7 separate regions of the Homo sapiens genome follow, and regions 2, 3, 4, 5, 6 and 7 are each linked to region 1. Evidence: promoter capture Hi-C in human tissues and cell types (Jung and others, 2019). All regions are on one chromosome and are shown on one strand. Each heading gives the region's core, a stretch centred on a gene start or on the middle of the fragment in contact. The rest is flanking DNA. Distances are from core to core; before and after follow the strand shown.

Evidence for each region. Contacts are between HindIII fragments. The study calls those that stand out against the background at their distance.
Region 2: a contact is called between a fragment that was not itself captured here and the fragment with the promoter of FERMT1 in region 1, in 2 of the 25 tissues and cell types used here (dorsolateral prefrontal cortex and mesenchymal stem cells).
Region 3: a contact is called between a fragment that was not itself captured here and the fragment with the promoter of FERMT1 in region 1, in 1 of the 25 tissues and cell types used here (mesenchymal stem cells).
Region 4: a contact is called between a fragment that was not itself captured here and the fragment with the promoter of FERMT1 in region 1, in 1 of the 25 tissues and cell types used here (mesenchymal stem cells).
Region 5: a contact is called between a fragment that was not itself captured here and the fragment with the promoter of FERMT1 in region 1, in 1 of the 25 tissues and cell types used here (mesenchymal stem cells).
Region 6: a fragment that was not itself captured here is called in contact with the fragment with the promoter of FERMT1 in region 1 in 1 of the 25 tissues and cell types used here (dorsolateral prefrontal cortex).
Region 7: a contact is called between a fragment that was not itself captured here and the fragment with the promoter of FERMT1 in region 1, in 1 of the 25 tissues and cell types used here (dorsolateral prefrontal cortex).

What each region holds. Positions count from the first base shown.
Region 1 is chr20:6,121,192-6,124,794 of GRCh38, reverse strand. FERMT1 (FERM domain containing kindlin 1) reads left to right here and starts at 1,765. Exons shown (of 15, transcript NM_017671.5): 1 at 1,765-2,021. RefSeq lists a silencer at 1,760-1,879. The HindIII fragment of the contact is 15,378 bases long and covers 1-3,603 here.
Region 2 is chr20:7,266,334-7,269,985 of GRCh38, reverse strand. No RefSeq gene overlaps it. Among named protein-coding and RNA genes, the nearest start is that of LINC01428, 14 kb to the right of the region's middle. The HindIII fragment of the contact is 3,548 bases long and covers 380-3,652 here.
Region 3 is chr20:8,000,030-8,003,940 of GRCh38, reverse strand. It overlaps TMX4 (thioredoxin related transmembrane protein 4), which reads left to right. Exons shown (of 8, transcript NM_021156.4): 3 at 2,400-2,445. Among named protein-coding and RNA genes, the nearest start is that of TMX4, 18 kb to the left of the region's middle. The HindIII fragment of the contact is 3,749 bases long and covers 1-3,259 here.
Region 4 is chr20:7,835,001-7,838,589 of GRCh38, reverse strand. No RefSeq gene overlaps it. Among named protein-coding and RNA genes, the nearest start is that of HAO1, 100 kb to the left of the region's middle. The HindIII fragment of the contact is 5,656 bases long and covers 1-3,589 here.
Region 5 is chr20:7,294,088-7,297,946 of GRCh38, reverse strand. No RefSeq gene overlaps it. Among named protein-coding and RNA genes, the nearest start is that of LINC01751, 11 kb to the left of the region's middle. The HindIII fragment of the contact is 7,428 bases long and covers 1-3,859 here.
Region 6 is chr20:7,657,490-7,661,514 of GRCh38, reverse strand. No RefSeq gene overlaps it. Among named protein-coding and RNA genes, the nearest start is that of HAO1, 280 kb to the left of the region's middle. The HindIII fragment of the contact is 4,745 bases long and covers 1-4,025 here.
Region 7 is chr20:7,813,023-7,816,797 of GRCh38, reverse strand. No RefSeq gene overlaps it. Among named protein-coding and RNA genes, the nearest start is that of HAO1, 130 kb to the left of the region's middle. The HindIII fragment of the contact is 3,145 bases long and covers 448-3,592 here.

The sequences.
Region 1 (3,603 bases), core at 516-3,015:
TCTATATATATTGTGTATATGTATGGGTGTGTATATATATGATACACATTTATATACACACAAGTCACTACATAAAATTACAAGTTTAAAAATTAACCTAGGCCAAGAAGAACGCTTAAAACCAGTCGAATTCTTTAGCACAATGCAGATATTTTCAATTGAAAAGAGAAAAACCATATTGGTATGAATAGATAGAGCCATAATTCAAGGTCACACATAAAATCTTGACCACAGGCTGGGCACGGTGGATCACACCTGTAATCTTAACACTTTGGGAGGCCGAGGCAGGTAGATCACAAGGTCAAGAGATCAAGACCATCCTGGCCAACATCATGAAACCTGGTCTCTACTAAAAATACAAAAATTGTAGTCCCAGCTGCTCGGGAGACTGAGGCAGGAGAATCACTTGAACCCGGGAGGCGGAGGGTGCAGCAGTGAGCCAAGATCGTGCCACTGCACTCCTGCCTGGGGACAGAACAAGACTCCATCTCAAAAAAATATATGTGTGTGTGTGTGTGTGTGTGTGTGTGTGTGTGTGTTTGTGCGCGCGCGCGCGCGCGCACTGACCACAGTCTAAGTTCTAATGGGCCATAAGCAGGGTTTCATGATGTTAAGAGGTAGGGAAGTGGGACCAGATGACCCTTCCCATCGTTGACAAACGCTACCAAGTGAAGACATTCTGTTTCAAGTTTTTAATGATTTTATTTCAATTATAATATCCTATATTTGCCAACAATGTTCAACTAACCTTTTTAAATTAAATGTACTTTCAAACCCATAATAATTCCTGAATATGGTAATGTTTAAGCGAAAACAGATTCAACTTCTAAATTTTATAACTTCTTTATTAAAATTTAAGTGTTCACAAGCCTTTTAATGCAAATCGCTAAAGCCTGTACTATATTGCATGAAATCCCTCCGTGGAAGAGCACGCATTCTATCTCTGTACCTATTTCACAGATGAGGAAACTGTCATTTCCATGTCTGTTTTATTAACCACTGTATTCTCTGAGCCCAGGCCCATTGGGAGGCCTGTAGAGCAGTAAGCACTCAACAAATGTGATTAAATGAACAAAGGAGGCTTGGAGAGGTTGTGTAAACTGCCCAGGTCACCCACCCTTCCTGGGTGGCCCCAGCCCTCTTTGAAAATAAATCCAACAGGAAGGCGACTGGCGGGACCGGTGGTGATCCTGAGGTGAGCCATACCAGGTGTGGCCCAGACTTCCGCATGCAGCCTGCCCTTGGGTCTCCTGGAGTCTCCCCTGGTCGGGAGCCTCAGCCTTCTGGAGACTGACACCACCCTCTTACTCAGAGACGAATCGTTTTGTCGTTGCCTTCACCTCCCTGACCACAAGTGCTCCGGGGCTCTTTCTGAGGGAGGCAGCTGTTCTAGGCGGGAGGCTGGAGTCTCCTGGGCCTGGACGCACCCCGGGGTGTGAGTGATGGGTATGCCTGAAAGGAGGGGAAGTGGCGCGGCTTTAATCATCTGGGCTAGTCCCCGGCGGGCCTGGGGGAACAGGGAAACTGGAGGCGGCCTTAAAGCGTCAGGATGAGACATCGCAAGAGGAGCTGCAGATACTGAGCGTGCGCCCCGGGTTCTCGCCGCCTTCTCTCCGCCGAGCAGCCCTTCGGCCACCCTTTGCCCTTAAAAATCTGCAGACTGCGCCTCCTCTCCGCGGGAGCGAGACCTAGCAGGCCCGGGGCTGGGCGTGCCCTCGCCTGCCACGCTGCGCGCTGCCCTCAGCCGGGCCGCTGGGGCCGTGCAGTGCACCGGGCACGCCGCGCCAGGCTGGGGGCAGGCACCGAGCCTCCGTGGGAGGTCCCGAGGCAGCTTCGCCTGCTCGCCCTGGCTCCAGCCCTCACCTGCCGCAGCCTTAGCTGAGCAGCCGCCGCCACTGGGCGCCCCCCGCTCCCCACTTCGCCAGCGCCCGCTCCTCGGCTCGGCCCGGGGTAGTTTGTAGGGACGCAGCTCTCCACGTGCGCGACTGCGAGGCTGGACGCTACGGGCTCCTGGAAAGGAGGTGGGTGCTCCGGAGCTAGGGCTGGGGAGCTAGAGGTTGGGAGGCTTTCATGGGCACCAGTGGCTCCTGAGCCCCCTTAGCCCCTTTCTTTCTGCAGCCTCTTGTACTTAAATAGCTGTTGATTGAAAATAATTTCGTCTGGATGTGACCACCTTCTCCGGCCCTACGCATCTGGCCGCAAAATAAACTTTCAGTTCAGCCGCAGGTGCTGCCTTAATGGGAGTAAGGGGCATGCTTTATCCACCCAACATCCGCCCCAGGATCCTGCAGAGCTGGCAAAAGACAGGTCGGGTGGCCTTCGAACACCAAGCACCTTCAGATATTCCAGGGGAAGGGTCGGGGACTGTTTCCCCCTCATCTTTCCTCCTTCCTGCTCTCCATCCCTCCATGCTTTCGTTTCTTTGACTGTCTGCGAAGGGCTTTTCAGCACTCTGCCAGTAACTTTGCTTCTTGTTTTGGTCTCCTTAGATGCGTTTTCCCGGCTGAAGTTTGCTGCTATCCTTGACAAGTAACAGCTTGCTGCAGACTAGACGTTCACTCAAAAATGAAGGCACAGAAAGATAGGAAAGGAATGCAGGAAAACCAGCTTGGCTAATTTTAGCCTGCATTTTGTTGTAAGGGGAATCAGCATCTATTGCCTGAATGAGTAGTGTTTTGATCACCCAAGTTAGGAAAAGACCTTATATCAGATTGCCCAGTGAAATAAGCAGTAAGGAATCACCTTTAAAAGTTATTTTCTTTATATACAAAACATTTTAAATAACTAGACTTCACAATTATAGCATTTAAGAAATTGTAAGGATCTTAAAGTCGAACAGTTCAATGCCAAGTTATGAGTTTGACGATGAAGGGGCATCTTTTGTCTCCTCACTGCGCAAGATTTGTGTTGATAGAAATGCTTAGTAAAGGCTACTGAGAATTTAGTTCACGTAGTTTGAGGAGTTTTCTTTCATTTTGGCATTGCAACATTATCAAAGTGGTTTCCCAGTGTGGTGAATAAGAGTTTGAAATAGAAAGGCAGACCTGGATTTCCACCTGGGCTCCAGCATCTAACTTGCTGTGTGACCTCAGGCAACTTGCTTCATCTCTCTGAGGCTGAGTTTCCTCATTTCTAAATGAGATTGCTGAGAGGATGAAAAAGGGATAACAGAAGACAGGAGTTAACACAGAGCACATCATACAGTCAGTAGGTAATAAATGATACCTGAAGCTGATGATGACAGAGGCAAGCAGTTAGGCCTAATGCAGTCACTGAGTGGCACTCCTCATGCAGAGGGTTCTGTGTGGATCTCTGTGCATGGGGAGGAGATGCATTGCATCGTTGCATGCTTCTGACTATAGAAACATAAGGAACGGCTGGGCGTGGTGGCCCACGCCTGTAATGCCAGCACTTTGGGAGGCCAAGGCAGGTGGATCACGAGATCAGGAGTTCAAGACCAGCCTGGCCAGCATGGTGAAACCCTGTCTCTACTAAAAATACAAAAATTAACCGGGCGTGGTGGCACACGCCTGTAATCTCAGCTACTTGGGAGGCTGAGGCAGAGAATTGCTTGAACCCGGGAGGCAGAGGTTGCAGTGAGCT
Region 2 (3,652 bases), core at 904-3,403, 1.1 Mb before region 1:
TATCATACAAGGCAATATGTTCAAGGAGTTACTACATTAAGTAAGCAAACGTCATATAAAACCCGCATAAACAGAGTCCCTCATTCAGGTTCCTTTGAAACATGTTTATTCTTGGGAACTCATTCACTCTTCAAACCTTCTTACCTTTAAACTGCTTCCAAGCTCAAAGAGCCCCGGAAAGAATTCATGTGCCTGAAGCTATACCACCCTGAGAGGATCTGCTCCTTAAATTTTACAATTGTCAGGTGGAGAGAGGGGAGTGAGGAGGAAGGGGAGGGCGTTTGGGCTGGACCCAGAGGAGCCCGGCAGCACACCTGCAACAGAGAGGAGTTACAGAGCAGTGCCAATGACTCAGGCCTGCATCAGGCCTTTAAACTCGGGATCTGAAGGCTGTTGCTCATTTTAAAAAATAACAAAACAAAACAAAAACTCTTGGCATAATGTCATTGAGAGAAGGGATGTTAGTCCTCCTGACTGGCTTGTCCTGATGCTTGGGACACTAGAATCTGCTTGCTTTGATTTCCCTTTCAGATTGAGTGAGGCAGGGATTCTCCTTCACTTCTGGTCTCAGGCTGGGGTTCCTCTGGGCCATTACACAGCAGCTGTGCTCCATTCCAAAAACAAGTGTCTTATCTATAATATTATTCCTCCCTTGCTGTTCACAGGTGGGAATGTGAGGCATGGTGAGTTCAGTGGGCCACATCCATGACCATCTCGTATCAGGTTATTTTCACTATAAAGGAAGACATATGTGGAAAGATAAGTCATGTAGAGGAACTTAGTGTTTAGGTTTTCCTGAAAAGATGGCCATCCTAATTTTAATGCATTTGCTGTATACCATGTGACATAATTCAGCTTACAGAGAAAAACCTACATTTTTTTTTCATTGACCAGAGACATGGGTTTCCATCAAAACCAATTTATGGTTCCAAGATATGGAATCAACCTAAGTTCCATCACTGGATAAATGGATAAAGAAAATGTAGTACATACATACAATAGAATACTATTCAGGCATATAAAAGAATCAGATCCTGTCATTTGCAACAATGTGGATGGAACTGGAGGGTATTAAGTGAAATAAGCCAGACACAGAAAGACAAATATTGCATGTTTTCACTCATACATGCAAGCTAAAAGAATAATCTCATGGAGGTAGATAATGGAATGATGGATACCAAGGCTGGGAAGGGTAATAGGAAGTGGGGATTGAATAAAGATGGTTTGGTAAATGGGTACAAAAACAGAATTAGATAGAAGAAATAATATCTAGTATTCAGTAGCACAATAGGGTGACTATAGTTAACTTATTGTATCTTTCAAAATAACTAGAAGTGTGGAATTGAAATGTTCTTAACACAAATAATATATACTCAAGGTAATGGGTATACCAATTACTCTGATTTGATCATTACACACTGTATGCTTTTATTAATATTTCACATGATCCCATAAAAAGATACTATTATATATCAATAATAATTAAAAATAAAAATAATAAAATATACAAGATAATAAAAAAACCTCCAGGGTTCTGGTGACAGCAAGCTTTACGTATTTCAGAAACATGGTTCCAGGAGTCTCCCACTCTCTTTTTATAGTATGATAAATGACCTCTTATCTTGTTGAGGGAAAAACAGCAAATCTTGAGGATTCTCTTCTCCCATGTTTTTATCCACCTACAATAAAGTGACCATATGCCTTACCCAAGATATCTTGGGAAACATGTCTCCAACAGACAGGGATTCAGATTATAGTGAGTATTAATCTTCAAAGATTTGATATACAAGAAATAGCAAATTTGTTTATTTTTTTAAATCAATTAAATAGTTTTTGAGTTTTCCTTTTGTCCAGTTAGTGGAAAATACGTCTTAGCCATTATAGAATAGGGCCATTCCTCTAGCCTAATTTTGCCCAATATTCCCAAAGTCTTATTTGCTATCTGAAATATGAAAGCTAGGACATGTCTCTATCAGTCCATTATAATCAATAATGAAGTCCACCTTCTTATAGTTTCCAAATAAAATAAAAGGCACCTGCTGCTGTGGTTTAAATGATGGTGCGTGCTCCAAAATTTGTATTTTTTGTATTGAAACTTAATCCACATTGCAACCACTTTGAGAGGTGTTGCCTTTGGCTAGTGATTAAGCCATGAGGGCTCCATCCTCATGAATGGGATTAGTACCCTTCTAAAGGTGCCTGAGGTATAGAAGGAAATACTCTCTTGCTCTTCTACCCCTTCAGCCATGTGAGGACACAGCATTCTTCTCCAGAGGATGCAGCAATAAAGCACCATCTGGAAGCCGAGAACAAGCCCTTAAGACACCAACACAACTGTTGCTTGATCTTGCACTTCCCGGACTCTAGAATTATGAGCAATAAATTCCTATTGTTTGTAAATTACCCAGTCTGTGATATTTTGTTATACTAGCACAGACTAAGATACCTGCTAATTGTGAATTTCATAAAAATAATGAATAATTTTTAGTATAAATAATGCTTTAAATATAAATGAACATTTAGTCACAAATAATGCATGGGACATACTTATGCTAAAAAGTAATTCAACATTTACCTGAAATTCAAATTTAATTGGTTGTCATGTATTTTTCTTTGCAAAATATTGCAACACTGTTCCTTGCTCAAGCCTGAAAATCTCTTGATAACTGGCATCTTCAAACTCTGAGTGCTGTTCTGCCCCAAACTCAGGGTTTTTCAAATTCTTGGAGAAACAGCCCATGCTTGGATTCTGCCCTCTTGAGTACAAGAGAAAGCAAAATTTTCTTTGGTCTTAGCTTCTTTACTAGTCACCTTATATCCAGAACACCTTCTGGGAGTGTCTCCTTCTCTCCTTCCCTGATTTCAAGGCTTCTGGAAAACAGAGCTTTGAAAGCCAGGTAGTCTAAAAATAATGTTCACTTTTAAACCTGTCATATAGAGCTTCCCTGAGGCAAATAAATGTTTGAGGATTAGAAGAGATGAAAGGAAAATAAAAAGGGATCAAACCACAAATTAAGCTTTATCTCAATAAAGCTTTCTGACAAATGGTAATTTATAAAGAAATATCCCATCCAATAAAGATGGTCATCTTTCCTTTTCACTTTTCCTTCTAGATTAATAATGTGCCATATTGAAATGTGTTGAAAATTACAATACTCTTGGATAAACTACTGTGGAATCATTGTGCTTTCCATATTTACAGGGTGAGTCTAAGTACTTGCAGGTTGGTTGAACTGGATGGGGGGATTGGTCTTGCTTTGTACAAAGTCAGTAAGTCTTTCCATCTGTGTAGATGAGTCTTCTTTCAGTTGACTTGGAAGGGGGTAAACCAAAGTCTATTTTATTTACATAATAAAACCAGAAGCATACAACAAAACAATCAGCGTCTATCTGTCTTAATTGTGAAGAACAATTGGATTGGGAATTGGAAAATATGAATTGGACAAGTTGGTGTACCTGTGATTGTGTGATCCAGTTATTTAAACCTAAATAAATTCACCAAGCTTATAGAAATATAATAGGGTAGTTTCATATAATGTGGTCAGGCTAATTAATAAGCACTCCAATTACCACTTTTACCAATCTGCAATTTTGAGACTTCAGAAGTCCCCCATATCCCTATCTTAAATAGTGTGATTCATTCATGGATACT
Region 3 (3,911 bases), core at 136-2,635, 1.9 Mb before region 1:
AATATTCCACATAGGCTGTCATTTGAAGAAATATTGACAAACATAAATGAAAGTAATCTTGAGGTGATATGATTTATTGGTCTTTATTTTAATAAACCTTAATTGATGGCCTTGTAAATTGGTACAGTAGTCAGTGAAACAACATAGCAATTCATATCAAGAGACATAAAGTTATTATACCCTTTAATCTAGCAATTTTGGGAAGAACTCTCCTGTTATTCCTTTTAGCCAGAACCAGAAAGATGCAGAAAAACCTCAGAGACCATCTGTGACTTTGATACTTTTTCTTGGTACTCACTGATTTTCATGAGTACATTTATTTGTAAAGATAATTTATGTTTTCTGAAATGAGGTGCAATTTCTAAAAGACTTAAGACTAAAGCCTCCTGAATCTGGAAATGTTTTATATATTGTATAATTAAATGTGTTTTATGAAATATTTTTCTACTTATTTATTTACTTCTTTATTTATTGTCATAGCCAGTGATGACTAAGAACATACAAAAGAGCAAGTTAAAAAATCACTTTAAGTGATACCTAACATTTAATAGAAATCTTGTCTCTTTATTCTGATAAAAATAAAATCTAAGTAAAAAACTTTAAGAGGTGATGAGATACTATTTAATTTCTTCATTCCATTTTAAAAAAACATACAAATGAAATATACATTCTTAATACCGTAACTGTCTTTAGATAAAATTTTTGGCTGGTCATAAGGAACTATAGCTAGGTAAGAAGTAATGTATGAAGCTGTTCATAATAATTATCTTAAACCAAAGGCATATACTAGTTTTTTAAGTATTTAGGAATAACAGTACTTTTTCCCCTGGCAAGTTAGAATTGGAAGTATACTGTAGGATACCCTTGTTCCCTCCAGGGTGAAATCCTGAGCAATGTGAGAGATGAAAATGCGCTTAGAAGTGCTTGTTACAATCCTCAGTTGACCTATTTTTGGGTCACTCGTGTTTATGTTACTGGTGACAAAACTTTTTTTTCCAATGTACAATGACAAATTTTTGTAGTAAATGTTTCTTTTTGTGACTTTGACTTTTACTAATCCAGAGCATTGTGTTTCCTTTTAAATACAATTGAGATGTTTTGGAATCCACTTGGTCTGAAATGAAATAAAATACAGAATTCTTTGAGAAGACGCATCATTTGTTACTAAATTATGTTGAATATGGATTTAATTTATAAAATGGGTGAAAGTAAATTTTCCATGTTATTAAAAGTAAAGCTTCAGTGTTTTGAATTGCAAGTTACCACAGGGATGTGTGATTTGAGCAACTTAATTTGAATGGATATTTGATTTTGTCCACATTGTTCTACAGTGGGAAAGGCAGCTGTGATGGAAAATGTTAAAATGATGCCTCTGTCATTTTTCCATGTTGGCCAGGAGGATCCTTAAGCTTTCATTCTCTTTACTTATTCTTGGTGCCCATGCAAATATTATTTATTTGTAACATTTAAAGGGCAAGGATCTGTTCTTTACTCCTAGTCTCATTCAGCATTTTTTTGCATACCTACCCTTTTTTTAAATATTTTCATTCTCTGTTTGTGGTTGTGATTGTGATTATTTGAATAAGTTATTTCCTTCTGCTACTAGACTATAAGCTCTGTGAGAATAAAGGTTGTACATGTTTTTATTCATCCATGTGTCTTGAGTGGTAACCACAGTCTCTGGAACAAAGAAGGTGCTTGGTAAATATTTGTTGAGGTACTAAGGGTTTTATTTATCTTTGTCTTTACATGCACATAACATAGCATTTGATATGTACTTAGTGTTCAGTAAAGGTTTGCTAAAACAAATTGGAAAAAATATTTTTCACATACATATATTCCCTTTACGGTACTTACAGATTTTATAAATGTACAAACATTATACATGATCTTAATCATTTCATATTACTTATTCTTTTTAAACTGATAACTGATGTAATCATACCTATAGTTTGTTGAGTCCTTCACTATGTACCCAGCACCATGCTAAGCCTAATAACACTTGCCCTAATCTAACTTTAGAACCATTAAGTTAGGCTTTTATATACCCATTTTATAGAAAAAAGGTGACTGAGACTAAGAAAGGTTAAATAATCTAAAGTTATAAAGTTAATAAATGGGTAAGTCGGTATTTAACTTTGCAAAACCCCAGTTTGCATGACTCTAAATCCTATCCTTTCAGCCTCCTTACAATCCAAGTGATGCAAGTTGTATGTCAGTTACTAGAAAGTGTTAGGTAATAAAAATAGGTAGAAATGAAATTTCTGTAAGTCAAAAAAAATAGTAAATGTGAGTCAACAATTGCAGTGATTTTAATAATGTGATTATGAAAGTAAGCTCAAGAATGCTTTTTTTGGAGGACTTAAGTGTAACTTTTGTTCTGTTTATGCTTCTTGTAGGTTTGAGTGGCCGCTTCTTTGTCACCACTCTCCCAGCATTTTTTCAGTAAGTTTAAATAATCTTCTAATCTTGCAAATATTAGAAATCAATAGATGTGTACCAGGAATTCTAAGTTGTCTTCCATGACTGCCACTCATTCAGCTTAACATGTGAGGGAAACAAGGCTGGTGTGCTCTGAGTGAGAGCTGTGACAAGAGAAGCTTTCCTGGAGTGCTGCAGAGACAGAGGTCCTAATGTCAGGCGTAGGTGGGCAGGAGAAGTCAGAGATTTCTCTGGTGATATCAGAGGTGGGGTAATTCTTAATATCTAAGTAGGAATGCATTAAGCCAACAAGGTAGAGAAAGTCTTTCCAGTTAAAGGAGATAGCATAAAAAAGCCCAAGAGAGAATGAGCTACCTTTTGAGAACTTTGAACTAGTTCTTTATGGCTGGACCACAGGTATAGCTGGATCATGCTGAGTGATGAGGCCAGAGAGACTCAGGTACAGGCAGGGGAAAGATAAAGAAAGTAGTGAATTCCAGAGATACTTAGGAGGTAGGATCAGTGGGACTTGGTGACTGATTAGCTGTGGGAAGGAAGAGTCTATGATGACTACCAACAGGCCATGTGTAACTAACTAGTAAAAGCTATTGCCTGCCTTCATGATTAGGAGCCATTAAAATAAGAGGAGGTTTGGAAGATAGAGACAAAAATGCAAAAGATAAGTGTGACTTGCCCTTCCCAGTTCCAAATGGAGAAGTCTAGGTACAGTTTGATGTCAGGATCCAGAGTTCAGAAGAAAGATCTAGACTGGAGATACATATTGAGAATTCCTCAGCATTGAGGTAAAAGTTGAAATATATCTAGAGAGAACATGTATGGTGGGGAAGGGAAGCAGGTCAAGGATGGAACCTGGGATTGGCCAACATTAGGACATCTGCAAGGAAGACAGTGAGTGAAGGAAATGGAGAAGTAATGCTCAGAGCAGTAGGAAGAAGTCCAGAGAGCTCCTGTCATAAAAGCCAAGCACAAGGAAGAAAGAAGTGGTATTCAGCAGTGAATGAACAATGCCAGTAACAGGTGAAGGAAACAGAAATGGATACGGCACTTAGGGGTCATTGGAGACCCCCAGTATGAGTGGTTTCAAGGGAGTCCTGGGAGCAGAACCCCCAGTTGCACCAAGTAGTGAATGAGACATAAAGAGGAGAAAACAGCAAGCCTAGACTCTTCCCTGGGGGCCCTGATTGCTGCAAGTAGGTGAGAGGGAGGCCAGGTTGAAGGGGGGTATGACGTTTTTTGTTGATGTTTGAGGAGAGGGCCTTGAACGACATAAATTTGAAAATGTGGATACAATGTTTTAAACTTGATAACAATGGCTGTTTTGCTATTGTAAGAGAAAAAGTAATTGGTAGCAAAAATAATAAAAAGTAACTTGGCATATTAAACACTGCCAAGAACTCTGCTTTTAGTCACACTTTGTACGGTGATAACATAGAATGTTAACGCTTTTAGGTTTGAATTTCTCACTTATA
Region 4 (3,589 bases), core at 744-3,243, 1.7 Mb before region 1:
GGTATTAATGTACAAGGAAGGTCCAGAAGATATTTTAGTTGGTTTTATCGTTGAAGATAATCCACTGGAATGGCCCAGGATCATAATGACAAAGAATGCTTCAAAGAAATAGTAGAACAATGAACATAATTTCTATCTCTTATAGCTAATTAGACTACATATAGATTCCTCGCCCCAAAGCTAGGAGGTACTATGTTTCTAATGAGCATATTTTTTTTCCTGTGTCCTAAAGACCTGAATAATAGATTGGCTACTAAAATAAAATAAAGCAATACAGCCAGTAAACTACCGACTATCATGTAACCATAATACTCCCAGGCATGAATCATTTTGTAAGTATTATGTTCTATATGTTTTGTGATAGCAATTCTAGAAGAACACATATTTGTGAAATATTTAGTCTGGTTGGTAAAGAAGATTTAATTCCTTTTTGTGGGATCTTGGATTTGTTTCCTATCAGTCTTTCTTTCACAAACTCATCTGTACTCTTATAACACAAAGAAGTTCAGAAGACGTTTTGCCATAATAAAAAAAGAGGAAAAGTATAAGAATAATAGAATTCTCTAAATATTATAGATTTTGTGAATAAAAAAGTGGGAGGAGAGGTGAGATAAAACCATTTTAATTCTGTGGACAAGCATGAGATCAAAGGGAAGAAATGAAAAGTGCTTTGTAGTTATTATTCTTATTTATCTATAGTATCTAGATCCTTGATACTCAGAGTGTGGTCTGTGAACTGGCAACGTGATGTCTCCCAGAGCTTGTTAAAAATGCAGAATTCGGTTCCCACTCATGACTCAGAATTTGCATTTTAACAAGATCCCAGGTAATTCATATGCAAGCTAAAATTGTGAGAATTGCTGATATCTAGATCTTTTTTTTCCGAAAATACCTATGAAGATAGACATATGGAGTGTCTCTGTTTGATGATGTGGTGTAATAAAGTGAGACACCTCTCTTCTGTTTATAAGAGCACAGATTATGAAGGTCTGAAACCACATAGATAGAACTGCTAGCACTAGTCCAGATGGCTAAAATAGAAGTCTTTTTCTACTACTGTTGTTTCTCTTGCAAAATAAGCCAGATCTTGAAAGGATCAGATGTGCCTTAACATCATCATGCTGAGGTGATTTATTTATTATTTCACAAGGAGCAGGGTTAAGGTCTTGTTAACAGGAGGAACTTGTTTTCTTATGTTAGATAGAACTGTGTTGTTTCAGGTAAATATTAATTTTCCTTTTGATAAGGTGTGGTTATTTCTTAGGTAAATAGTGAGAAAATTATTTGCAGCATCCTACAGTCAAGGCCTGAAGTGGATTCAAACATTCTATTTTCTTCTCTGGTCTTAAAACTAGAACCAGTTTTTGCCCCTTGGGATTCTGTAAAGATGAGCTGCATCTTGGGTTAATGGAGGTAACTAGATGCTGAAAATGACCAAGATATTCTCCAACTTTTGTGGGAAGTGAAGAGTTTTCTCAGGGATTGTGTTGAAAAACAAGAGCCAGAATTTGGAAACTAAGGGCTGTGAAGTATGATGAAACACTTAAAGAAGGAGAGGAGTCACAGAAAAGAACATTCAGAAGGGTCTTCCTCTAATTGGTGGTTCTCAATTGTCACCGAACATTGGAATCACCTGGGGGTCTTTTTCAGATTTCTAATTCTTGGATTGCATGCAGACAAATTATATTACAATCTCTGGTGAGACCTAGGTATCAGTAATTTTTTAAAAAAGACCTCCAAGACATTCCATTTTGCAGCTAAGGTCAAAACAATTAAAGATCTGATTTTGTAAAGTTTCCTGTCCTTATGTGGTAAATGTGTTTCATGTGGGGAAGGCTGGTGAGCAGGAAGTGTTCCAGTATCTTGATCATTTGAGGAAAGCTCAAAGGGTGAATGAAACATGGAGCTTCCTTTGGGGAATCACTAGACAAATCTATGTTCAGGCACGAGACAGTGTGACTAAATTCCTTGGTAATGTCTTTCACTCTTTGTGCTTAACCCCTATACTCTAGCAAGAAACACTGTGGGCTGAGTGTAGGGTAGTAGTTGGCCTCCAAGATGGCCTCCACTGACAATTGTGCCCTGATACTCATGTCCTTGTGTGCTTCTCACCACACTGAATCACTTGGGGCTGACCTGTGTGACCAATAGAATATGGTAGAAGTGATGGTATGAGACATCCAAAGCTAGGTCATAGAAGGTATATCAGCTTTTGCTTTAGTATTTGGGATTACTAGCTCTTCCAGAAGCTAGTCATGTTGTGAAAACACTCAAGAAGTCCCTTGGAGAGGAGCCAATTTGCCATTTGTGTGAGCCACCTTAGAAATGGATCATCCAGCACCACTGAGTCTTCAGATGGCTAAGCCCCAGCTGGCATCTGACTGCAACCTCATGAGAGATTCTGAGCCACAACTGCTCAGTTTAGCTGCTCCTGAACTCTTGGCCTATAGAGATCATAGGAGATAATTAATGACTATTGCCTTTTCATACTATTAAATTTTGGAATGATTCCTTACACAGCAATAAATAATGCTGCAGGGCTAATTCAAACCCTGGTTACCCAGTAAAGCAGCCTGTTTGTGAGTATATTTGTAGATAACTTCTAGAGTGTGGCAACAGAGTGGAATATTTTAGCAACAATTGCATTTAATTCTATCTTAAATTACATCAGCTACCTTGTAAGCCAAATATTAAATGTTATGACAAAACTACACTGTTATTAAAATCTTAGCTTTAAATTAGGTTTTAACAAGTAACTGGACAGCATTTGATATACGATTCAGCACTATCCAATAGAACTCGCTGAATTATAAAACCGTTCTCCCAGTTATGGTAGCTGCTAGCTATAGTTGGCAATTGAGCACTGGAAATCTGGCTAGTGCAATTGCTAAACTGAAATTTTAATTTTATTTAATTTGAAATTATGGCTACCATATTGATAGGATAATTCTATACATTTTTGGGGAAGGTTATAGACATGACAAAAATATTCTGCTCTAGGTTGTAAAGTTATGAACTGAGAAGTGGAAAACTCAGTAAGGGGAACAGTTTATCTCTGGAATAATGAATTAAAAGTCTTCCTATTTTACCACCAAATATGTGTCATTTGGAGTGATAGATGACAAACAACAAAGAAACAGATCACATAGTATTGTGTATATCCAAGATGTAACTGAATTCAGGCTCTGTAACAAAAACTTTTGTACTAGAATTTGAGAGGAACTTTAAGATATTGTCAAAGCACAATTATCTCTGTGGTAGGTACTTGATGAGGTGTTTTCAAAAACATTTTTTTTCCTGCCAGCTGCCATCTTATTTCTTTTGCTCATCTTATAAAAAGTGACTAGATACTACTATAAGATATGCTCAGGAAGAATTCTACATAATCTACCACCAACATAATCTGCTTATAATTTCTAATATTTTAGTGTTGTCACTTACTTATGATGGTGTGATAATGATAATGAAAACAATGATAACTATTAAAATCAATTATTATGTTTGAATCAAGTGAATTTATTAGGTTTACTTAATCACTAATATTTATATTTTTTGTATTTAATCAGCACAAACGCTCAAAATTAGGGTA
Region 5 (3,859 bases), core at 1,030-3,529, 1.2 Mb before region 1:
GCTAGGGCCTGGGAGAAGGGGAGAATGGGAAGTTATTGTTTTCTAGGTTCAGAGTTTCATTATGGAATGACAAAAGTATTTTAGAGATGAATGGTAGTGATGATTGAACAACAGTGTAAATGTACTTAATGGCACTATACTGTAATGCTTAAAAATGGTTAAGATGGCAAAATTTATATGATGTATATTTTCCCACAATTTACAAACATTCTTTAAAAAGGTGAATGGGTAGGTCATCTACATCAAAAGAATAAGTAGGTAGGTTATAGATTATTTCCTGACACAGAAGCCACCAGTAACATAAGTAGGTGGATATACACTCCCCTAACTATAGTGTTATAAAATTGTACCAAAAAAAAAGCTATTGTACACAGAGACAACAAAGAATGCAAGAATGATGGGAACTGTGAAAGAAGTGGAAGGAAACTGGGAAGAAATACTGGAGCAGAAGAAAAATTAGAAAAACAGTTTCGTGCCAGCTTCTGGAAAGCCTTGAATGCCATACTAAGAATTTTGGATTTTATTCTTCAGGTAGTGAAGAGCTTCAGCTTTTTACTAAAATAATGGCTGACCAATGCTACTGGTACAAAAACAGATACATAGACCAATGGAACAGAATAGAGAACTAAGAAATAAGACTGCACATCTACAACCATCTGATCTTCAACAAACCTAACAAAAGCAAGCAATGGGAAAAGGATTTCCTATTTAATAAACGGTGCTGGAAGAACTGGCTGGCCATATGCAAGAAATTGAAACTGGACCTCTTCCTTACACCTTATACAAAAATTATCTCAAGTTAGATTCAAGACTTAAATGTAAAACACTAACTGTAAAAAGCCTAGAAGAAAATGTAGGTAATACTATTCAGGACATAGGCACAAGCAAAGATTTCATGATGAAATCACCAAAAGCAATTGCAACAAAAGCAAAAATTGACAAATGAGATCTAACTAAATGAAAGCGCTTCTGCACAGCAAAAGAAACTATCGTCAGAGCAAATAGACAACCTACAGAGTGGGAGAAAGTTTTTGCAATCTATCCATCTGACAAAGGTCTAATATCCAGAATCTACAATGAACTTACACAAATTTACAAGAAAAAAAAACCATTAAAATGTGGGGAAAGGACATGAAAAGACTCTTCTCAAAAGAAGACATTCATGAGGCCAATAAACATACGAAAAAAAGCTCAATTTCACTGATGGTGAGAGAAATGCAAATCAAAACCACAATGAGATACCGTTTCATGCCAGTCAGAATGGCAATTATTAAAAGTCAAGAAACCAGAAATGCTGGTGAGGTTGTAGAGAAATAGTAAATTAGAAAATAGTAAATTAGAATAGTAAATATAAAATGTAAATTAGTTCAACCATTGTGGAAGTCAGTGTGGCAATTCATCAAAGTTCTAGAACCAGAAATACCATTTGACCCAGCAAGTCCATTACTGGGAATATATCCAAAGGAATATAAATCATTCCATTATAAAGATACATGCATGTGTATGTTCATCGCAGCACTATTCACAATAACAAAGACATGGAATCAACCCAAATGCCCATCGAGGATAGACTGGATAAAGAAAATATAGTACATATACACCATAGAATACTATGCATCCATAAAAAGGAAGAGATCATGTCTTTGCAGGGACATGGATGGAACTAGAAGCCATTATCCTCAGCAAACTAATGCAAGAACAGAAAACCAAACACCACATGTTCTCCCTTGTAAGTGGGAGCTGAACAATGAGAACACATGGACACGGGGAGGGGAACAACACACACTGGGGCCTGTTGTGGGGGGTGAGGGCATGGGGAGGGAAAGCATTAGGAAAAATAGCTAATGCACGCTGGTCTTAATACCTAGGTGATGGGTTGGTAGGTGCAGGAAACCACCATGGCACACTTTTACCTATGTAACAAACCTGCACATCCTGCACATGTACTCCAGAACTTAAAATAAAAATAAAATTAAATAATTTTTAAAAAGGCTTCATGAATTAAAAAAAGAAAGAAAGAATGGCTGGAACAGACAAATACCAGGGATAAAATTCCTATCAAAACATGAACGATGGAGCTAAACTGTATGCAGGAAACCAACCAATTATGCAGTGAGAGAAAGGGAAGTATAAATTTATGAGTGAGCAATAAAATATATTTATGGAAATCGATTTTCTCAAAATAACTCTAGTGAGTTTAAACCTTTCCTTTCCGGTATTTTTATTAAAACATAAAGAAGAAAATACCCACAAGTCTGAGGTTTATGCTGTAAGCATAATCTCCATTTGTTGCAGTTGTTTACAAGAGTGTGCCCGTTTCTAATGTTACGATGTAACTAAAGTTATGATTTCACTCCAGTATAGCCCTTCTTACCTGAACAAAGAGATCATAAAGAAAGTAAAGACACCTACTCTAACCACAAACAGAAGATAAAGTATTATGACAGACTTTAATTTTATGTAAAAATTTTCAAGCAGAATAAATGAAAATAAATTAATATGTATAACATATAAAATACACCCCACATACATTTGCAAAACATAATATTTGAGCTGTGACAATTAAACAGGAAACAAGATGCTCAAGAAAATATGAGGTTTAAGGCCCCCGAAGTATTATTGCTGGACATTTTACTTTTCATTTCTTCAGATTACAGGTTAGGTTTCTAGAGTAGTCGCTTACCCTGGACTTGTCCTTATTCAATCTAGAAAGACTGACTTTTCCTAATATGATGGTCTGCTATAACATGAAGGCATTGGCCAATCTGTGACGTCAAAGGTAACTTCTTGACATTGAGACATCCCTTGAATTACACACTACTTGGTGGACAGTCATCTACTCCCACAGCCCCTCTCTGGTACATGCCATCTCTTAGTAGAGATGAGTGGCTCCTTGCCACATATCAATAGCTGTGTCATGGGACGTCGGCAGCATTCATCACCTACCCCATGATCTTGACCAATTCTGGCCAGAGACAAGTGACAACTTGCCTTATTTTGAAAGGATGCATGTTGCTGCTCTGGCCTTGAGCATACCAGAAAATCTCAGACCTCAAATGCTCCCAGCCTCAATAAGATATCATGAGGTCACGGATTCATCACATATGTTCTTTCCTTTTTGCTATTTTTCCATTATTTTTAATATATACTCAATGAAGTCATCCTAAAAGGAAAAACTAGTATTACTAGTTCAATGGTAAAGAATAAAACGTTGTTCCTCCTGATGTGTGAGCATCCTAATGCTTTACAAGCCCTTATAGAAATTCAAAGTAAGAGCAATGACAACATCTAGAACTTTAAAAGAAACTGTATTTATTAGAAAAAAAGAAAGGAGATACAAACTGAGCAGGGGGTAGGAAGAGGAGCAAGAAGAACTAAGGGGAGGAGCAATGAGCTCTTCTGAAAGGGCAGACTCCAGAAAAGGAACAAAACTGCTGCAGACTTGAAAGCACCACTGTCTATATTATTGTCTGAGTCTTGGAAATCTTATGTTGAGTACAATAAGCTTCATTTATATAAAATTCTAAAATAAATCTATGGTGAAAAACATCAGAAGATTGCTCTTAGGGAACTTCCTGGGATGATGGTAATTTTCTCTACCTTGATAGAGGTTTGGGTTACACAGGTCTATGTATTTAAAATATGCTTACTATTCCATTCCACTTCAAAAGACATATTGAAATGTAGTTGATAATATGCTTGCTAAAGTGTTTAGGGGAAAGCATCCTGACATCTGCAATTTACTTTAAAATGTACAAAAAACTAAGATGAAGTATAGAAAAATGGAGGGATCGATAAATGGATAGGTTTGTGAAAAAGCAATATAGAAAAATGTTCATGTTAGAGTCTAGGTAGTTGA
Region 6 (4,025 bases), core at 501-3,000, 1.5 Mb before region 1:
AAATGTTCTTTCTTCCACCCCCACATACTGTGAGGTCTCCTACACACTATGAATATCATTATAATTTTTTAATACTATTAAAAAATTCTGTTTTTGTAAAAATATTGTTTTGTAAAAAACAATTCTGTTTTTGTAAAAATATTTGCCTTTGCTCTTTGCAGAAACTTGCTGAAATAAACATCAAAGGAATGCTTGAAATTGAATAGAAATCACAAAAGGGTATCACATGAAACCTGGGTTGTTTGTTTATGAGGTGTGTGAAGTGTGTGTGTGTGTGTGTGTGTGTGTGTGTGTGTCAGAGAGAGAGAAAAAAAGTGAGAGAGATAGAGACTAATTTTGTAACTTTAGAGCCAGTGTTCGGTAACATTTTCTCACTTGGAACTTCCTTAATATTTTTTGTAGGCACATAAACTTTAGACCTTTTTTTGTAGAGGAGATTATCTAGTGCAAATAAGACTGCTTGAGTTCCAATACATGCTCCCTTACTTATTAGGTTTATTACTTGTGCAAGATACTTAACCTTTCTAGGATGCAAGTCAAAGAATAACTCAGAAAATTATAATTAATTTCTGAAATTTATATATAATTTTGTACTTACAAATATACTAATAAGAGAAAAGTAATTAGATGATTGTCAATGGAAAAAAAGGAGGGATCATAAAAGAGGAGCAAATGGAAAGGAAAAATTACAAACAGTCTGGTAACAGTAAATCTTGCTTCTGTAATTTTGTTTTTGTCAATATAGTTGATCTTCTGGCAGCAGCAAAGAGGCCACTTGGTCATGGGAAGTATGTCTTTGAGTAGGCTGGCCAGAGTCATTGATAGCCATAATTTCAGTTGTTGATGTATTCTCAATGGTCCTACCATTCCCCAATCTCAGGAAAAAAAAAAAAAAGCTTGAGAGCTAAGCTGTAGCATACACACGATGGACCATTTTTTGTGTATTTTTCTGTTGTTAGTACTTCTACATTAATTAAACAAAGGCTTGTACCATGTTCTGCATCATTATTCCTTGCTCAGTTTAGTCAGGTATCCAATAAAGTTAATACAGATCATGGGTCTTTTTGTGAGGCTTACATGAGATATTGCATGCAAAGCCCTGACAATGAAACTTGGCTCAAAATAAAAAGTTAGTAAATATTATTGCATCATCATTATCATCATCATCACCGTTACTGAAGGATCCTGATTTAGAGCGCACACAAGAATTATTTCAATATGCCAAATCCTAGAAAACATTCTGCTATAGTTCCCATTTCTTGTCTAAAAGAACCTGCGGTCTATCTGTCTGCAGCATCCCTCCCATGAAAGCCTACACAAAAGGACATTAGAAAGAGAATGATAAGTTTACCAAGCCTCCTTAACAAGAGCATTCTTTGCTCAGGAAGAAGATATCAAATAATCGGAATCTCCTGGAAGTTTAGGATAAATTATTCACGGCTCTAGCTCAAATTTCCATTCTCTCCTTTTTCTACTCTGTAATGGCATGAAATGTTTTCAAAAATATGTTGAAGAGTCAAATCTCTAAAGGAAGCAAACTGTGCAAATATCACCCCAAAAAGGCAGAGTCTCCAAACCAAGTCATTCAAGAATGAAATTCCATGTCATGAGCAAGGTGCCCATTTTCTTATCTTTTGCCCCAAAGTGGGATGAACCTCACTTGCAAACACTATTGTATTATAACTTCTCCACAGAACACAGAATCTTCCTGTGTCTAAAAGCCTTGACTACATGATAGGAAAAAATAGTTGGCCCTAGAGTATTGTTTTTCTTCCTGTGTTACCACTTACTTTATTAGTGGCACTGGAAAATAACTGACAAAATAGGTTTGAAAGACTAATATGTTATAAATACATTTTCCCTTTCAAAATTGTTGTTTGTGTTTTGCTTTGGTTTTGATTTCTGGCTTTGTCCAAGATCCTTTCCTTTACTTGGAAAAGTCATTGATCTTGTAGCTAATGGAATGCTATTTAATTTTTCAAACTTACTTTCTCTCTTTCCTTTTCTTTCTTTGTCTTTCCTTGCCTCATCCTTCCTTTCCTGTTTTCCCTCCTTTCCTCTCTCTTTCTTTTTCTTTTTTTAATAACTTGATTCTGGGAGTAAATATTTAAAAGGGATTCCTGCAGGATGCCACTATTTACAATGAGCAGTTATGAAAGATACCTTTCCTTCATTGGGGACAATTCAAGTTTTAATTTATCTTGCTGATTATATTGGATACTATTTCTCATTTTATCTGGAGAAAAGCCACACAAAGAGGCTTTTGTCTGATCTTCAATGCCACTTATCTAACAATTTTCTGACAAAGCAGGGAGGAAAGAACCCACTGAAATCTGGTTCACTTCTTTCAATATTGGGTCATAGGATAGATAGCATTGATTCAGTTCTAGAGGCACATAGAATAGAGTAAGAGATACTAGTAAGGCTGTTTGGCTAACATGTATTGAGCACTGACTATCTTCCAGGCAAAAAGTAAGTTTTATGTACATTAACTTGTTTAAAACTAATACCAGTCACATTTTAAATATCATAAATTGTATACCTAGAAAGCTTAAATATCCTTCCAGAAAGCAATTCTACAAATCTGTTCTCTTAAGTCGTTTAATATATTACCTCTTGTATATTGCTTGTGTTTTTTAAAGCACCAATGAGGCCATAACTTGAGGTAACATTTAAAGAATGATTTACTTGGAGAGTAGCATGATCTGAATGTAATTTTATTAACTATAGAGTCTAGGTATTTTGTCATCTCAAGCCCTTATTAGAAGCTTCTGTGACATTGAGTAAAGTTGTAGAGATAAATTGAGATTTTTAGACACTCATTGTAGGATTTGATGATGCTGATAATTTCTTCTTCTTTGTCTTCAATTAGTATTTTGAAAATGCTTATTCACTAACTCATTTCAACAATTAACTCACCAGCTAAGAAAACTCTAGTCCTTCATTAGCATTTAATTATTTCTGGAACATTTGAGCTTATTCTGGATCTTTCAGTTACCATTTATTGACTTCCTCCTGGCATATTATCGTCTTAAAGGATTATACAGTGGAGAAGGCACCATTCTAGCCCAGGACTTCTGTTTTGTTGTGTCAATCTTTCTAATCTTGGGCAAATCATAGGGGCTGAGTTTACACAGCTGTTGATTAGACATAGAGTCACCTACTCTGCTGAGTTCACAGGATGATTGTGAGAATTAAATGTTATAAACTATTTGCTTTGGGAAAAAGTGCAAAGTGCTTCAGAGTACAATGATTTTACTCCATTGGAAAGTCTCCCCACAGGTCTTTAAAAGCTTTCATTTTTTCAGGCCATATGTTGTATGGAGAGTACCAACAGAAATGACAACATTCACTTCCACTTAAGAGTCTATTTACTCCATTCAAAGTTGCCCAAAGGAGCTCTACTTCCATCAGAAATTAATGAGCCAGATATATGAAGAGGTTTGTTGCTTATTTTGTGAAAATTAATAGGGCTATGGTTAGTGTAGGGCTATGGTTAGTGTAGGGCTATGGTTAGTGTAGGGCTATGGTTTGTGTAGGGCTATGGTAGCTATTAGAACAACAGCTGCAGTGGAAAAAAATCTTTGTATCGCAACAGTCAATTATGTTTTGATTTAAAAGCAAAGCAGGCATAAGTCTGGGTATTACAAGTTCAGGAGTAAGTTGACATTACTTACAGACATACCTTCATTGTTCTCTCTGTATGCTGATTGCAAGCTCTAGACTTTCATTAATCCAGATGAGCTTGGCAAATGACTAATGTCTGACCTGAATTTTTGCCCTTTGATGATTGAAGGCAGACACATTGATGTGTGTTGTTGCATAAGCCACGTAGAGATATGGCCCTATAAATCCCAAGCAATAAAATATATGACAAAAGAGACAGATCATAGGGTAAAGATGCAATATATTTTTCATGATTTGTAAAACATCATGCTGCCCTGATTAATGTTTTATTATTTTAGATGTAACTGGCATTATACTAAAATATATGTCAAATGGCCTCTTGTCTTTATATAATATGC
Region 7 (3,775 bases), core at 771-3,270, 1.7 Mb before region 1:
ATAATAGTAGGGTCATAATGATATGTTTGATATTGGTTACTGGCTTTTATGGTTAGCAGTTATAGCATTTAATTCATTAAATGTGTCAGCATTCAGTTTATTTATATTATTTGTTTTGATTAAAAAGTCAAGAAAATTCCACTCATTTGAAACCATAATTACATGTATTAACTTTTTTTTTTTTTAAAAAAACCCTTGTTTTATAGTGTTAAGATTAACTGAACTAAAAACCTGAAAGTGAATTATTAGGGCACTATTTTGTTATAAATTGCAAACAATATCTTATAATTGGTAACATTCTTTATTGTAATTGTAAAAGTCAAACGACAAAAGGCCAAAATGTATCATATAAAGGTAATGCAGTAATATGCGATTATTAAAACATGATGGACTGCTATATGTGAACTTATTATTAAACAACTGCTTTGACAGAAGCTTCCTCTGAGTGATAAATGTAAGCTTTGACTGAGGCTTGAGTATGAGATACAGGGGCTAGTGCTGTAGCCCCTTGATCTTCAAGTATGGTCTGGGTATAGCAATATCAGTATTGCCTGCGAACTAGTCAGAAATGCAGAATCTCACACTCTACCTGGAGAACACTGAATCAGAATCCCTGAGAGTGGGGCCCAGCAATCAGTGTTTTAACAAGTCAAGTGATCTTGATGCAGTTCCAGATTGAGGGGGTGCTTAGGTAGAAGTCCATGCACTTGGACATTATAACTACATAGGTATGCATAGGCCAGAGGTGACACAAAGATCAGTTTAGAAGCCCTAGAGTAGTGCAAGTCTTAATTAATGATTCATTTATAAGCATTTTAAATATTTGTAGACAGAAGGTAGAAGATGCATTTAAATTTCATGTAAAATAAATTAACTTGAATGCAAACGATTATTCTAATATATCCAGTTTATAGTATAAATTAAATATTTGTTTTGATTTTGTATTAATGTTTTACAAACAGATAATTATATTTCAAAGAGAAATGTGGATTAAATGTCTGGAAGTCCTGAGATAAAATCCCATCACTACTATGTAGTTGATCACAATTTTCTGGGACAGAAAGGCAGAAAGAGACAGTTAAGACTCTGGGGTCTCTGAGAACTAGGCAAATAGTATTATGAGATAAGAAGAGGAAACCTCTGGCTAAGAATGTGGATAGATAGGGAGCTTCTAGGCCCAGGCAGGGAGGAATTACACACTTAGGAACTATAAGCCCATTGATATGGTTGTAGGGTTTTGCAGTCTGATGGACAAAAAATGTCAGCTTCTTTTCTTTTGATTTTTAAACACTTTATTAAGATTTAATTCATGGCCAGGCACAGTAGTGCATGCGTGTAATCCCAGCACTTTGGGAGGCCGAAGCTGGCAGATAACTTGAGGTCAGGAGTTCGAGACCAGCATGGTCAACATGGCGAAACCCCGTCTTTACTCAAAAACAAAAATTAGCCGGGTGTGGCTGCAGATGCCTGTAATCCCAGCTACTTGGGAGGCTGAGGCAGGAAAATCACGTGAACCCAGGAAGCGGAGGTTGCAATGAGCCCAGATCGTGTCACTGCACTCCAGCCTGAGTGACTGAGACTCAGTCTCAAAAAAAAAAAAAATAAAATAAAAAAATATAAGATTTAATTCACATACTATGAAATTCACCAACTTCACATTTATAGTTTGGTGATTTTTAGCACATTCACAGACTTATACTACCATCACCACTATATAATTTTAGAACATTTTAATCATCCCACAAAGAAACTTCGATATCCATTTAGCATCACTATCCATCTTTCCTACACCCACAATCCTCAACTCTAGGCAAGCTCTACTCTACTTATGTTTCTATAGATTTGCCTATTCTGGACTTTTCATATAAGTAAAATCATTTAATACAGTTTTTTGTATATTTTTTATGCCTGACTTCTTTTATTTTTCATGTTTTCAATGTTCAACCACATTATAGAATGTATCAGCACTTTATTACTTTTCTTGCTGAATAAAATTGCAATATGTGATCATATGGATATAACACATTTTATTGACCATTCATCGATTGAAGGACATTTGGGTTGTTTCTACTTTATGGCTATTATGAATAATGCTCGAGATGAATATTTGTGAATACTTTTTTTTTGTGGACATATGTTTTCATTTCCCCTGGGTATACAATTAGGAGTGGAATTACCAGCTCATATGGTAACTCTATGTTTAACCTTTAGAAGGACTGCCAGACTGACTTCAAATAATATTGGTTGCATCATTTTACACTCCCACCAACAAGGTATGAGGGTTCCAATTTCTCCACATCCTGCCAACACTTGTTATTGTCTGTCATTTTGATTATAGCCATTCTAGTGAGTATGAAGTGGCTTTTCATTGCGGTTTTTACAGGCAATACCAATTGCTGGAAAGGATGTGGAGAAAAAGAAACTCTCTTAAACTGATGGTGGGAATGTAGATTAGTACAAGCACTATGGAGAGCAGGTTGGCAGTTCTTCAAAAAACTAGAAATAGAGCTACCATTTGATCCTGAAATCCCACTGCTGGGTATATACACAAAAGAAAGGAAATCCGTATATCTAAAAGACATCTACACTTCCATGTTTGTTGCAGTACTGCTCACAATAGCCAAAATTTGGAAGCAACCTAAGTGCCTATCAACAGAAAGATGGATAAAGCAGTTGGTGGGAGGGGTGACAGTGGGCACAGCTTCAGCCAACTTAAACGTTCCTGTCTGCCGGCTCTGAAGAGAGAAGCAAATCTCCCAGCAGAGCACTTGAGCTCTCCTAAGGGACAGACTGCCTCCTCAAGTGGGTCTCTGACCCCTGTGCCTCCTAACTGGGAGACGCCTCCCAGCAAGGGTCGACAGACATCTTATACAGGAGAGCTCTGGCTGGCATCTGGTGGGTGCCCCTCTGGGACGAAGCTTCCAGAGGAAGGAACAGGCAGCAATGTTTGCTGTTCTGCAGCCTCTGCTGGTAATACCCAGGCAAACAGGGTTTGGAGTGGACCTCTAGCAAACTCCAGCAGACCTGCAGCAGAGGGGCCTAACTGTTAGAAGGAAAACTAACAAACAGAAAGGAATAGCATCAACATCAACAAAAAGGACGTAAACACAGAAACCCCATCCAAAGCTCACCAACATCAAAGACCAAAGTTTGTAGAGCTTAAGAGAAAATCAATTAGTTTTTCACCACTAAGTTTTATTTTAGCTGTAGGTTTTTTTATACATATCTCTTATTAGAATATAAGAATGTATTTTGAAAGCATTTTTATTGTTAATATATGTGAACGTTTCATTAATAATGTTAGATTTTATTGTAGGCTTTTCCTGCATGTACTAATGTTCCAATTTTAATATGGTAAATTGCAATGACTGAATGATGAATGATGAACTCACCTTACATTCCTGGGATAAACTCCACTAATTGTGATTTGTTATGCTTTTCATATATTACTAAATTTTATTTGTCAATACTTGTTATGAATGTTTGTGTCTATATTCGTGAACAATAAACGTTTATAGCAGTTTTTCCTTGTAATGCTTCTATCTGCTTTTGGTATTAGGATAATGCTGGCCTCATAGGATGATTTCAAAAGCATATCCTCTACTTTCACTTTCTGGAAGAGGATGTATAGATTGGTTTTCTTTCTTTCTTTCTTAAATGCCTGGCAGAATTTGTCAGTAAAACTAAATGGACCTAGAGATTTGTGTTTGTTTTCTTTTGTGTACTTTTTGTTTGGATAAATTTGAAACTACAACTCCACCATAGAAAATATACA